2 separate regions of the Homo sapiens genome follow, and region 2 is linked to region 1. Evidence: promoter capture Hi-C in human tissues and cell types (Jung and others, 2019). All regions are on one chromosome and are shown on one strand. The core of a region is centred on a gene start or on the middle of the fragment in contact, and the rest is flanking DNA. Distances in the headings are between cores, read along the strand shown. Region 1 overlaps DDX23 (DEAD-box helicase 23). Region 2 holds the start of KANSL2 (KAT8 regulatory NSL complex subunit 2).

Evidence for each region. Contacts are between HindIII fragments. The study calls those that stand out against the background at their distance.
Region 2: a contact is called between the fragment with the promoter of KANSL2 here and a fragment that was not itself captured in region 1, in 1 of the 25 tissues and cell types used here (thymus).

What each region holds. Positions count from the first base shown.
Region 1 is chr12:48,837,247-48,842,451 of GRCh38, forward strand. DDX23 (DEAD-box helicase 23) reads right to left here. Exons shown (of 17, transcript NM_004818.3): 4 at 2,767-2,860; 5 at 2,598-2,663; 6 at 696-834; 7 at 278-411; 8 at 35-147. Among named protein-coding and RNA genes, the nearest start is that of DDX23, 12 kb to the right of the region's middle. The HindIII fragment of the contact is 3,147 bases long and covers 818-3,964 here.
Region 2 is chr12:48,679,743-48,684,947 of GRCh38, forward strand. KANSL2 (KAT8 regulatory NSL complex subunit 2) reads right to left here and starts at 2,496. Exons shown (of 10, transcript NM_017822.4): 1 at 2,445-2,496; 2 at 1,640-1,899; 3 at 1-91. The coding sequence starts at 1,890. RefSeq lists an enhancer at 2,194-2,463 and silencers at 2,544-2,753, 2,794-2,843. The HindIII fragment of the contact is 9,488 bases long and covers 1-5,205 here.

The DNA of each region.
Region 1 (5,205 bases), core at 1,141-3,640:
AAAAGACCTAGAACTCAGGCCTGAAGCCACTCACAGGGGGTTGTAGTCAATGGATGTGTCCTCAGATGCATCCCACTCAAAAACAAATTTCCGGTCATTGAGATGTCTCGTTCGGCGCCGCTTTTTGATGCCACCCAGGTAACGCTCCTACCCAGGGACAGAACACAAAGCACATGAGCTTTGAGGCCCAATTCTCACATGCAGAGATCACAATGGCCAAATAACTAAACCTCATTTTTGTGTGGGAGAGAAGTGAAGATGGAGCCAAGGCCTGCACCTTAATGGCATGCAGTTCCTTGCTCTTATCCTTCTCTTCCCGGATCTTCTGCCGCCCTTCCTCATCCTCATTTCCATTGGTCTCCCGTTCCATCCTCTCCCTGCGTTCCCGACGTTCCCGTTCCTGAGGATCTTCTGCAGACCAAAGAAAGCAAAGCTGCAGAAGAGCTCATGGAAGAAAAGAGGAGAGGGAATGGAGGGAATCCAGACGAGGAACCCCAAATGAAGAAAAAAAGGGGTAGACTTATGATATGGGGTAAATGGAGATCTAACAGAAAAATGTTTTCTCATAAACTCCCACCATCCTTCCCCTTTCCAAACTCCAGAGTGAACAGGTTTCTATCTCTCCTAAGAGACACTGTATCTCATCCCACTCTTTCCTCTTCCATCTAGGGGCTACACAGGGTAGAATAACAAACCCAACATCTTCCTGCCCAAGTCTTGGAACTGTTTCCTTTTCTTCCTCTCTTCTTCAAGCATCCTCTGCCGCTCTTCCACCTCCTGCTGCCGTCGCTTTAGAGCTTCAGCCTCTCGTTCTGCTTTAGAGAGGAACTTGGGCTACAAAAGAGATTGGAACTGTCAACAAAGGATCTGGGAGCAGGGTACAATCACATCACTGATGGGGAGATGGCAGGGAACCCAAAAGTATTTGCTCAGGCATTAAGCCTGTTGAGGAAAACACAAATAGGCCTTGGACTCGGTTATGGACTGAACTATGTCCCCTACAGAATTCATATGTTTTTTCAGGCTGGACGTGGTGGCACATGCCTGTAATCCCAGTGTTTTATGAGACCTAGATGGGAGGACCGCTTGAGGCCATGAGTTCAAGACCAGCCTGGGCAACATAGCAGACCTTGTTTCTACAAAAATAAAAAAACTCAGCCAGACATGATGGCATGTGCATATAGTCCCAGCTACTCAGGAGGCTGAGGCAGGAAAATCATATGAGCCCAGGAGTTTGAGGTTACAGTGAGCTGTGATTGCACCACTGTACTTTAGCCTGGGCAAACGAGCAAGACCTTACCTTTAAAAAAAAAAAAAAAATGTGGCCGAGTGCGGTGGCTTGTGCCTGTAATCCTAGCACTTTGGGAGGCCGAGATGGGCGGATCACGAGGTCAGGAGTTCAAGACAAGCCTGGCCAGCACAGTGAAACCCTATCTCTACTAAAAAAATACAAAAAATTAGCCAGGCATGGTGGCACGTGCCTGTAATCCCAGCTACTCAGGAGGCTGAGGCAGGAGAATTGCTTGAACCTGGGAGGCAGAGGTTGCAGTGAGCCGAGATCATGCCACTGCACTCCAGCCTGGGCAACGGGGCGAGACTCCATCTCAAACAAACAAACAAACAATGCATGTGTTATATATATTTTTTGAGACAGACTCTCGCTCTGTTGCCCAAGCTGCAGTACAGTGGTGTCATCATGGCTCACTGCAGCTTCAACCTCCTGGGCTCAAGCAATATCCTTGCCTCAGCCTCCTGAGTAGCTGGGACTACAGGCGCATGCTACCACAGATGGCTAATTTTTAAAATTTTATAGAGATGGGTTTTCACCATGTTGCCTAGGCTGGTCTAAAAATCCCTGGCTCAAGTGATCCTCCCATCTTGGCCTTCCAAAGTATTGGGATTACAGGTGTGAGCCACTGTACCCAGCTCAAAATTCCTATGTGGAAGCCCTAACTCCTAGTACCTCAGAATTTGACTATATGTGGAGACAGGACATGTAAAGAGGTGATTAAGTTAAAATGAGCCCATTAGGCTGGGCACAGTGGCTCACGCCTGTAATCCCAGCACTTTGTGAGGCCAAGGAGGGCAGATCACTTGAGCCCAGGGGTTCGAGACCAGCCTGGACAACGTGGTGAAATCTGGACTCTACAAAAAATACAAAAATTAGCTGGACGTTGTGGCACGCACCTGTAGTCCCAGATACTTGGGAGGCTGAGGTGGGAGGATTGCTTCAGCCTGGGAGGTGGAGGTTGAAGTGAGCCGATATCATGCCACTGTACTCCATCCTGGGCGACAGAGTGAGACTCTGTCTCAAAAAAAAAAAAAAAAAAAAAAAAAAGGGCCTTTTAGGGTGAGCCCTAATCCAACACAAGGGGTACATGTGTACAGAGGGAGGACCATGTGAAGAGCTGAGGAAGAAGACAGCCTTATAAGCCAAGGAGAGAGACCTCAGAAGAAATAACCCTGCTGACACTCCGCTCTCAGACTTCCAGCCTCCAGAACTGTGAGAAAATTAACTTCTGTCGTTGAAGTCACCCAGTCTGTGGTATTGTGTTATGGCAGCCTGAGCCGATGAATGAAGACCCTCAAGTACTTACCTTAGCCTCAGCTTCTTCCTCAGCCTTTTTCTTGGCCAGAAGCTCCTCCAGGGATAATGGCTGGGCCTGAAGATAAAACAGAACTTTAGTCTATAAAGGCTCTCTCCCTTTAAAGATCAACAAAGCAACGCACGAGTTGAAGATGAAAAATATCCTTCCTCTCCTTTACCTTAGGCTTCTTATCACCATGTTCATCCTCTTCATCCTTCTTAGAGTCTCTGTCCTTCCGAGATTTAAAGTCTTTTCCTCGACCAGGAGATAAGCTTTGAGGAAAAGGAACAAGGTCCACATCACTCTTACTTCAGTGCCTGGATGAGGTTCAAGTTGAGCCCCGAAAAGAGAATGGAAGTTTCCCCATGACTCAACAAGACTGGCCCATGGTCATCTATCATGTCTTGAAACTCTCTTAGCAGGCATGGTCATTCTGCCAGCTCTGAAACCTAATTATGGCCCTGTCTTGGCCCCTTTCTACCCAAATCTCCTTTTGAGACTAATCTCTTTTGGGAAGTGGGACTTTACTACTGATGTCAAAAATATTTCCCCTAGGCCAGGCGCGGTGTCTCATGCCTATAATCCCAGCACTTTGGGAGGCTAAGACAGGTGGGTTACCTGAGGTCAGGAGTTCAAGACCAGCCTGGCCAACATGGCAAAACCCTGTCTCTAGTAAAAACACAAAAATTAGCCAGGTGTGGTTGTTTAGAGAAAAATTTTTTTTTTTTTTTTTTTTGAGACACAGTCTCACTCTGTCGCCCAGGCTGGAGTGCAATGGTGTGATCTCAGCTCACTGCAACCTCCGCCTCCTGGGTTCAAGAAATTTTCCTGCCTCAGCCTCCTGAGTAGCTGGGACTACAGGCGAGTACTGCCACCACTGGCTAATTTTTATATTTTTAGTAGAGACGAGGTTTCATCATGTTGGCCAGGCTGGTCTCGAACTCTTGACCTCAGGTGATACATCCACCTCGGCCACCCAAAGTGCTAGGATTACAGGTGTGAGCCACAGCGCCTGGCCCTCCTTAACTCTTTAATATACAATGAATTTAGCCTACATGGCCACCACCACAAGCCAAGAAGATACTGCTATCTATATTCCCTCATCATTTTTCATTCCTATCAATCCCAACAATCCTTTCCCCATACCTGCTCTAAGCTTAATCTACAAGATAATTCAAACAACCCCACTGAGTTTCTGTTAGGAGCATTCTGTCCTCTGCCTTGAATTCTAACCTATACTTTCAGGGCCTGATAAGAACTCTGTATACAGGCCAGGCACAATGGCTCACGCCTGTAATCCCAGCACTTTGAGAGGCCGAGGTGGCCGGATCACCTAAGGTCAAGAGTTCGAGACCAGCCTGGCCAACATGGAGAAACCCTGTCTCTACTAAAAATACAAAAATTAGCCAGGCATGGTGGCGCATGCCTGTATTCCCAGCTACTTGGGAGGCTGAGGCAGGAAAATTGCCTGAACCCAAGAGGCAGAGGTTGCAGTGAGCCGAGATCGTGCCATTGCACTCCAGCCTGGGCAACAGAACAAAAACTCCATCTCAAAAAAACCCCCAAAGATTCAGAGAAGAATCCATAGATAGAAAAGCTTCAGGCTCCCTCTCCCCTCTCCCCTCTCCCCACGGTCTCCCTCTCCCTCTCTTTCCATGGTCTCCCTCTGATGCTGAGCCAAAGCTGGACCGTACTGCTGCCATCTCGGCTCACTGCAACCTCCCTGCCTGATTCTCGTGCCTCAGCCTGCCGAGTGCCTGCGATTGCAGGCGTGCGCCGCCACGCCTGACTGGTTTTCGTATTTTTTTGGTGGAGACGGGGTTTCGCTGTGTTGGCCGGGCTGGTCTCCAGCTCCTGACCGCGAGTGATCCGCCAGCCTCGGCCTCCCGAGGTGCCGGGATGGCACACGGAGTCGCGTTCACTCAGTGCTCAATGGTGCCCAGGCTGGAGTGCAGTGGCGTGATCTTGGCTCGCTACAACCTCCACCTCCCAGCTGCCTGCCTTGGCCCCCCAAAGTGCCGAGATTGCAGCCTCTGCCCGGCCGCCATCCCATCTAGGAAGTGAGGAGCGTCTCTGCCAGGCCGCCCATCGTCTGAGATGTGGGGAGCGCCTCTGCCCTGCCGCCCCGTCTGGGATGTGAGGAGCGTCTCTGCCCGGCCGCCCCGTCTGAGAAGTGAGGAGACCCTCTGCCTGACAACCGCCCCGTCTGAGAAGTGAGGAGCCCCTCCGCCCGGCAGCCACATCGTCTGAGAAGTGAGGAGCCCCTCCGCCTGGCAGCCACCCCGTCTGGGAAGTGAGGAGCGTCTCCGCCCGGCAGCCACCCCGTCCGGGAGGGAGGTGGGGGGGGTTAGCTCCCCACCCGGCCAGCCGCCCCGTCCAGGAGGGAGGTGGGGGGGTCATCCCCCCACCCGGCCAGCCGCCCATCCGGGAGGGAGGTGGGGGGGTCAGCCCCCGGCCCGGCCAGCCGCCCTGTCCGGGAGGTGAGGGGCGCCTCTGCCCGGCCGCCCCTACTGGGAAGTGAGGAGCCTCTCTGCCCAGTCAGCCGCCCCGTCCGGGAAGGAGGTGGGGGAGGTCAGCCCCCCGCCCGGCCAGCCGCCCCATCCGGGAGGGAGGTAGG
Region 2 (5,205 bases), core at 1,246-3,745, 160 kb before region 1:
TGTTTCACCCACAGGCCCTGGGTTGGTCTTCTTCATTTGAGCATGAAGTGCCAGGGCATTCCTACGGACATGTTCAGCACAGAAGGACACCCTGAAGAGACAAAACATTAATATTTTATAAGTTCCTTCTTGAAAGCGTTCAATAATGTTCACAGTCCCTAATCTTTAAATCATTTTTAGGGAATTAAAATGACTATTACATTCATTTCTAAAAATGCAAGTCAGAGGAATTTAACTGGCCCAAGGTCAACTCATTTGACTTTATTAAAGGGAAATAACAGGACGGATGAAGTGGTTCACCCTTGTAATCCCAGCACTTTGGGAGGCTGAGGCAAGGGATTGGGTCTTGCTCTGTTGCCCAGGCTAAAGTGCAGTGGTGCAATCATAGTTCACTGTAGCCTTAAACTGCTTGGTTCAAGCGATCCTCCTGCCTCAGCCTCAAAGTAGCTAGAACTATAGGCATGCACCACTGTGCCCAGCAAATTTTTTTTAGTTTTTTGTAGAAACGAAGTCTATGTTGCCAAGTCTGGTCTGGAACTCCCAGGCTCAAGTGATCCTCCCACCTCAGCCTCCCAAGTAGTGGGGACTACATGTCCACGCCACTATGCCCAGCGAGTTTTTTAATCTTCTGTAGAGACGGGGTCTCACTGTATTGCCTGGGTTGGTCTCCAACTCCTGGCCTCAAGTGATCCTCCTCCCGTGGCCTCCCAAAGTGCTGGGATTACAGGCATGAGCCACTGCGACCAGCCAGGGACACAATTTTAAAACTATAAGATACGTAAAAAATTATCTAGTCAGGTTATGTTTTTGCATGGATACCTTTGCATACATGATGAAAACTATGAAGCCTCTTACAGAAGAATACACACATATATAACTTTGCATGTTATTTAACAAAATTCATGGACAGCCAAATAGAGCCACACACCCCTCCATTAAGAAGAATTTTAGGGGCCAGGTGCGGTGGCTCACTCCTGTAATCCCAACACTCTGGGAGGCCGAGGCGGATGGATCACCTGAGGTCAGCAGTTCAAAACAAGCCTGGCCAACATGGTGAAACCCCGTCTCTACTAAAAAGTACAAAAATTAGCCGGGCATAGTGGCGCACGCCTTAAGTCCCAACTACTTAGGAGGCAGGAGAATCGCTTGAACCTGGAAGGAGGAGGTTGCAGTGAGCCGAGATCTCCACTGCACTCCAGCCTGGGGAATAAAGCAAGAATCTGTGCGCCGCCCCCCCGCCAAAAAATTAACTTTAGGGCCGGGCGCGGTCGCTCACGCCTGTAATCCCAGCACTCTGGGAGGCCGAGATGGGAGGATACCTTGAGGCCAGGAGTTTGAGACCGGCCTGGTCAAAATAGCAAGACCCCATCTCTCTTAAAAAAAAAAAAAAAAAAAAAAAGACTAATTTAGAATATGCCTTTATTTTACAGATAAGGGAAAAGAACCAAAGAGGTGAACTAAGTAATCCAACTCAAGGGTCTTTCCAGTCTTCACCGTTTTTTCAGTTTTCCAAGGATACAACCATAACCCCAAATTTACAAGGACAAAATCTCAAACGCGGCAGCTATGCTGAAGCCCGCATCATATCACATACCCCCTCGCTTTAAGAAAAACGACATATATATCTATACATATATACCCATCTTTCTTCTCTGGCTTTGGGGCAGCATTGGGACATCTTTTTCCATTCTTCGTCGATATATAACTACACTGCTTGAAGGGTGCATTCTTGTCTTCAAGGATATGCTTAATGCAAAACTCCTGCCCCTCCAGACGAGGGTGAGAGCATGGACGATGAGTGAATGCACAAGACAGAGGTTCCTGAGACCTGGGCACTGGAGTGATCCTCCCCCGATTGGTTGGCAAGACGTGAATCCGAATCCTGTTCATAACCAAAACCTGCGGGGTCAAACGAAAGACCAAAAAGCCCTTACCCTTCCCGAAAATTCCTGCTCCACACAGATCGCGCGGACAGTTTCCAAAGGACATGCAGAAGTCGTCCCCGTAAGGTACGCTCCGTAAGTCCCCGCCGCCCTCCCCAAGTCTCCACAGGCATCTGTGGCTTTGCCTCCCTTTAGCGTGTCCCTCCATGCCCGGCCCCACCCCGAACCACACCACGCTGAATGTATCTTCAGGACTCGCACAGCTGCAGCACGAAGGGAAGCGACAACACCAGCCCCACGCGGCGGCCACGCCGCCTCCCCGCACGCCGCCTTTGTCCCGGCCTGCCTCAGAGCGCACGACTGGGCCTGGCCTCGGAAGCCTATGCGAGCGCCATTTTGTCCTACGGCTCCAGTCACCGGAGATCCTGGCTCCTGGAAGCCTGCAGGAAGGAGACTGACTCTGACACTGCTTTGAGGCGGAGTAGCAGCTCTGAGCTGACAAAAAGAGCGAAATAGCAGCCCAACCGCAAGAGCTTAGAGGAAAGAGCACCGCCATCTTACCTCAGGAGCTGCGCTGCGCCGCACTCTGCCGCGCCGCTCGCCCTTCTCTAGTGGCGCCAGCGGCTCTCAGATCGGCCTCGCCCCTTTCCGGACTCCTGGCTACTCATTGGCTACCGCTCGTATGACAGGATGTCGCCATTGGCCGAGACCAACTACCTATCGTGTCTGGGAGGGCGGAGCGCTGAGAAAATGCGAGGTTGGGGTGGCTAAGACAGACTGTCTGTCAGCAACTCCGCCCGGAGGAGAGTGAGCCGGGGAAGGGGGCGGAGAGCGGGCTGCGGGGCGGGTTGCCAGCTAATATTTTTCCACCTTGCAGCGTGGCTCGTTTTCCGGCTACTTTTGGACCCTCAGTCTGTGGTCCTAGGCTGCTGTTCCCTCACCACTGTACACAGCTAGTATAAAATCAGACAGACAGGCCGGGCGCGGTGGCTCACGCCTGTAATCCCAACACTTTGGGAGGCTGAGGCTGGCAGATCACCTGAGGTCGGGAGCTCGAGTCCAGCCTGAGCAACATGGAGAAACGCCGTCTCTACTAAAAATACAAAATTAGCCGGGCGTGGTGGTGCACGCCTGTAATTCCAGCTACTCGGGAGGCTGAGACAGGAGAATCTCTTGAACCTGGGAGGCGGAGATTGCGGTGAGCCGATATCGCGCCATTGCACTCCAGCCTGGGCAACAAGAGCGAAACTCCGTCTCAAAAAAATATATAAATAAAAAATAAATCAGACAGAGGCTGGAGGATCACTGTTTACACATAAAAAGTCTTTAGCTTTCTTTTGTGAACAGTTCAATACATGTACTGAACATTTGGTATAGAGAACACTGAGAAACATTTTTTGGGTGTTTACTGATTCTGGGAATTACATGTATAAAGTCATTGAATTTTTCAAAGCAACCCTAAGAGGTACAGGTTAGTATTATGTCCATTTTACAGATAAGAGGACTGAGGAACAGAATGGGACCATAGCTATTAAATGGGAAAGGAAGACGAATTTGAACCCAGCCCGCATTCTTTATCCCTTATTGCCTCTTATATAGTAAAGAGCATTGGACTGAGAATAAGGAAATATTTGTTCTAGTTTAGGGCTGCTTCTCATAACTGTGTGCCCTGTCTTTAAAATTCCATGCTAAATAATGCAGGTATCATAAAAATGACAGACACAATACCAATCATACCATCCTTTAAGGATTTTTAGTTTAAAAGCATCTTTCTGTCATCTCCACCACTTGTAGAAATGATTCCTAGCTTTCTTCCCATAACCCTTCTAGACATTTTTTGCTTTCCAGCATCTCTTATCTCCTCACTGTCAGTTTAAGAAAGATGTTTTATCCATGCCTAACGAGCAAGTGAGCATGAGTCCCAGTGGAAGTGAACATAAAGATTCCACAGCCCTCAAGAAAAACACTAAGGCTGGGCGTCATGGTTCACCACTGTAATCCCAGCACTTTGAAAAGCTGAGGTGGGAAGATCACCTGAGCTCAGGAGTTCGATCCCAGCCTGGGCAATATGGAGACACCTCATCTCAAATAAATAAATAAATAAATAAATAAATAAATAAATAAATACACTATAGGACCGATAAATTATTAAAAAAAAAAAAAAACCTTGGGGGTTGTGCTGTTTCCAGAGACTAGAGCAGCCCTAGAAGAAGGCCTGAAATTCATTCATTCAACGAATATTTATTGAGCACCTAAGTGCCAGGAGAGAACAAGGAAGATAACCCTGCTCTCTTGGAGTGAACATTCTAGGATAGCTTTGGATTATGGATGCAATACAAACATAATATTAATAACAATGATTTATATACATAAGCAAACAGACCAACCCTCAGGAGTACGAAAAAAGATGTTTTGTTATAAACACCCTATAATTAAAAAACAGCCAGAGGCAGTCATGTCACAGAAAATTTGGGAATCCGAATCTGCAACCAAATGTAGTAATATCAAAAAGCAACATTAAAACTACTGTAGTGAACAATATGAAGAGACACAGGAATAGATGGGGAAGAAACAAAAGACTTTCTTTCAATGAATTTACTGAAGGTCTTAGTTGAAAAAAGAATCCTTCTTGTAAGTCCAAGACAGACAAAACATTACTATTTAGAACCACTTCTTTTTTTTTTTTTTTTTTTTAGCGGGAGTCTTGCTCTGTCGCCCCGGCTGGCTGGAGTGCAGTGGCGCGCGATCTCGGCTCACTGCAACCTCCGCCTCCTGGGTTCAAGGGATTCTTCTTCCTCAGCCTACCCCCCAAGTAACTGGGACAACAGGTGTGCGCCACCATGCTCGGCTAATTTTTTTATATTCTTAATAGAGACAGGGTTTCACCATATTGACCAGGCTGGTCTCCAACTCCTGACCTCGTGATCTGCCCACCTCAGGCTCCCAAAGTGCTGGGATTACAGGCGTGAGCCACCATGCCCGGCCTAGAACCACTTCTAAGTGAAAGGAGGGAGCAGATATTAAGAGCTCAAGATGTCAGCAAATTCTTTGTTCTGTTTAACAAAGTAGATGGCTTTTTTTTTTTTTTTGAGATGGAGTCTTGCTCTGTTGCCCAGGCTGGAGGTAGATGGTTATTTTTAATTCACTGAACACTTTGTAGCTATTGAAGAGGTTAAAGTAGACCAGAAGCTATTTGTAAATAGGGATTAGGAAACTAGAGTTTGGGGGGCTAATCCTAGAGAAAAGTGAGAAAAAAGATGAAAACGGCTGGGCGCAGTGGCTCACGCCTATAACCACAGCACTTTGAGAGGCCGAGGCGGGT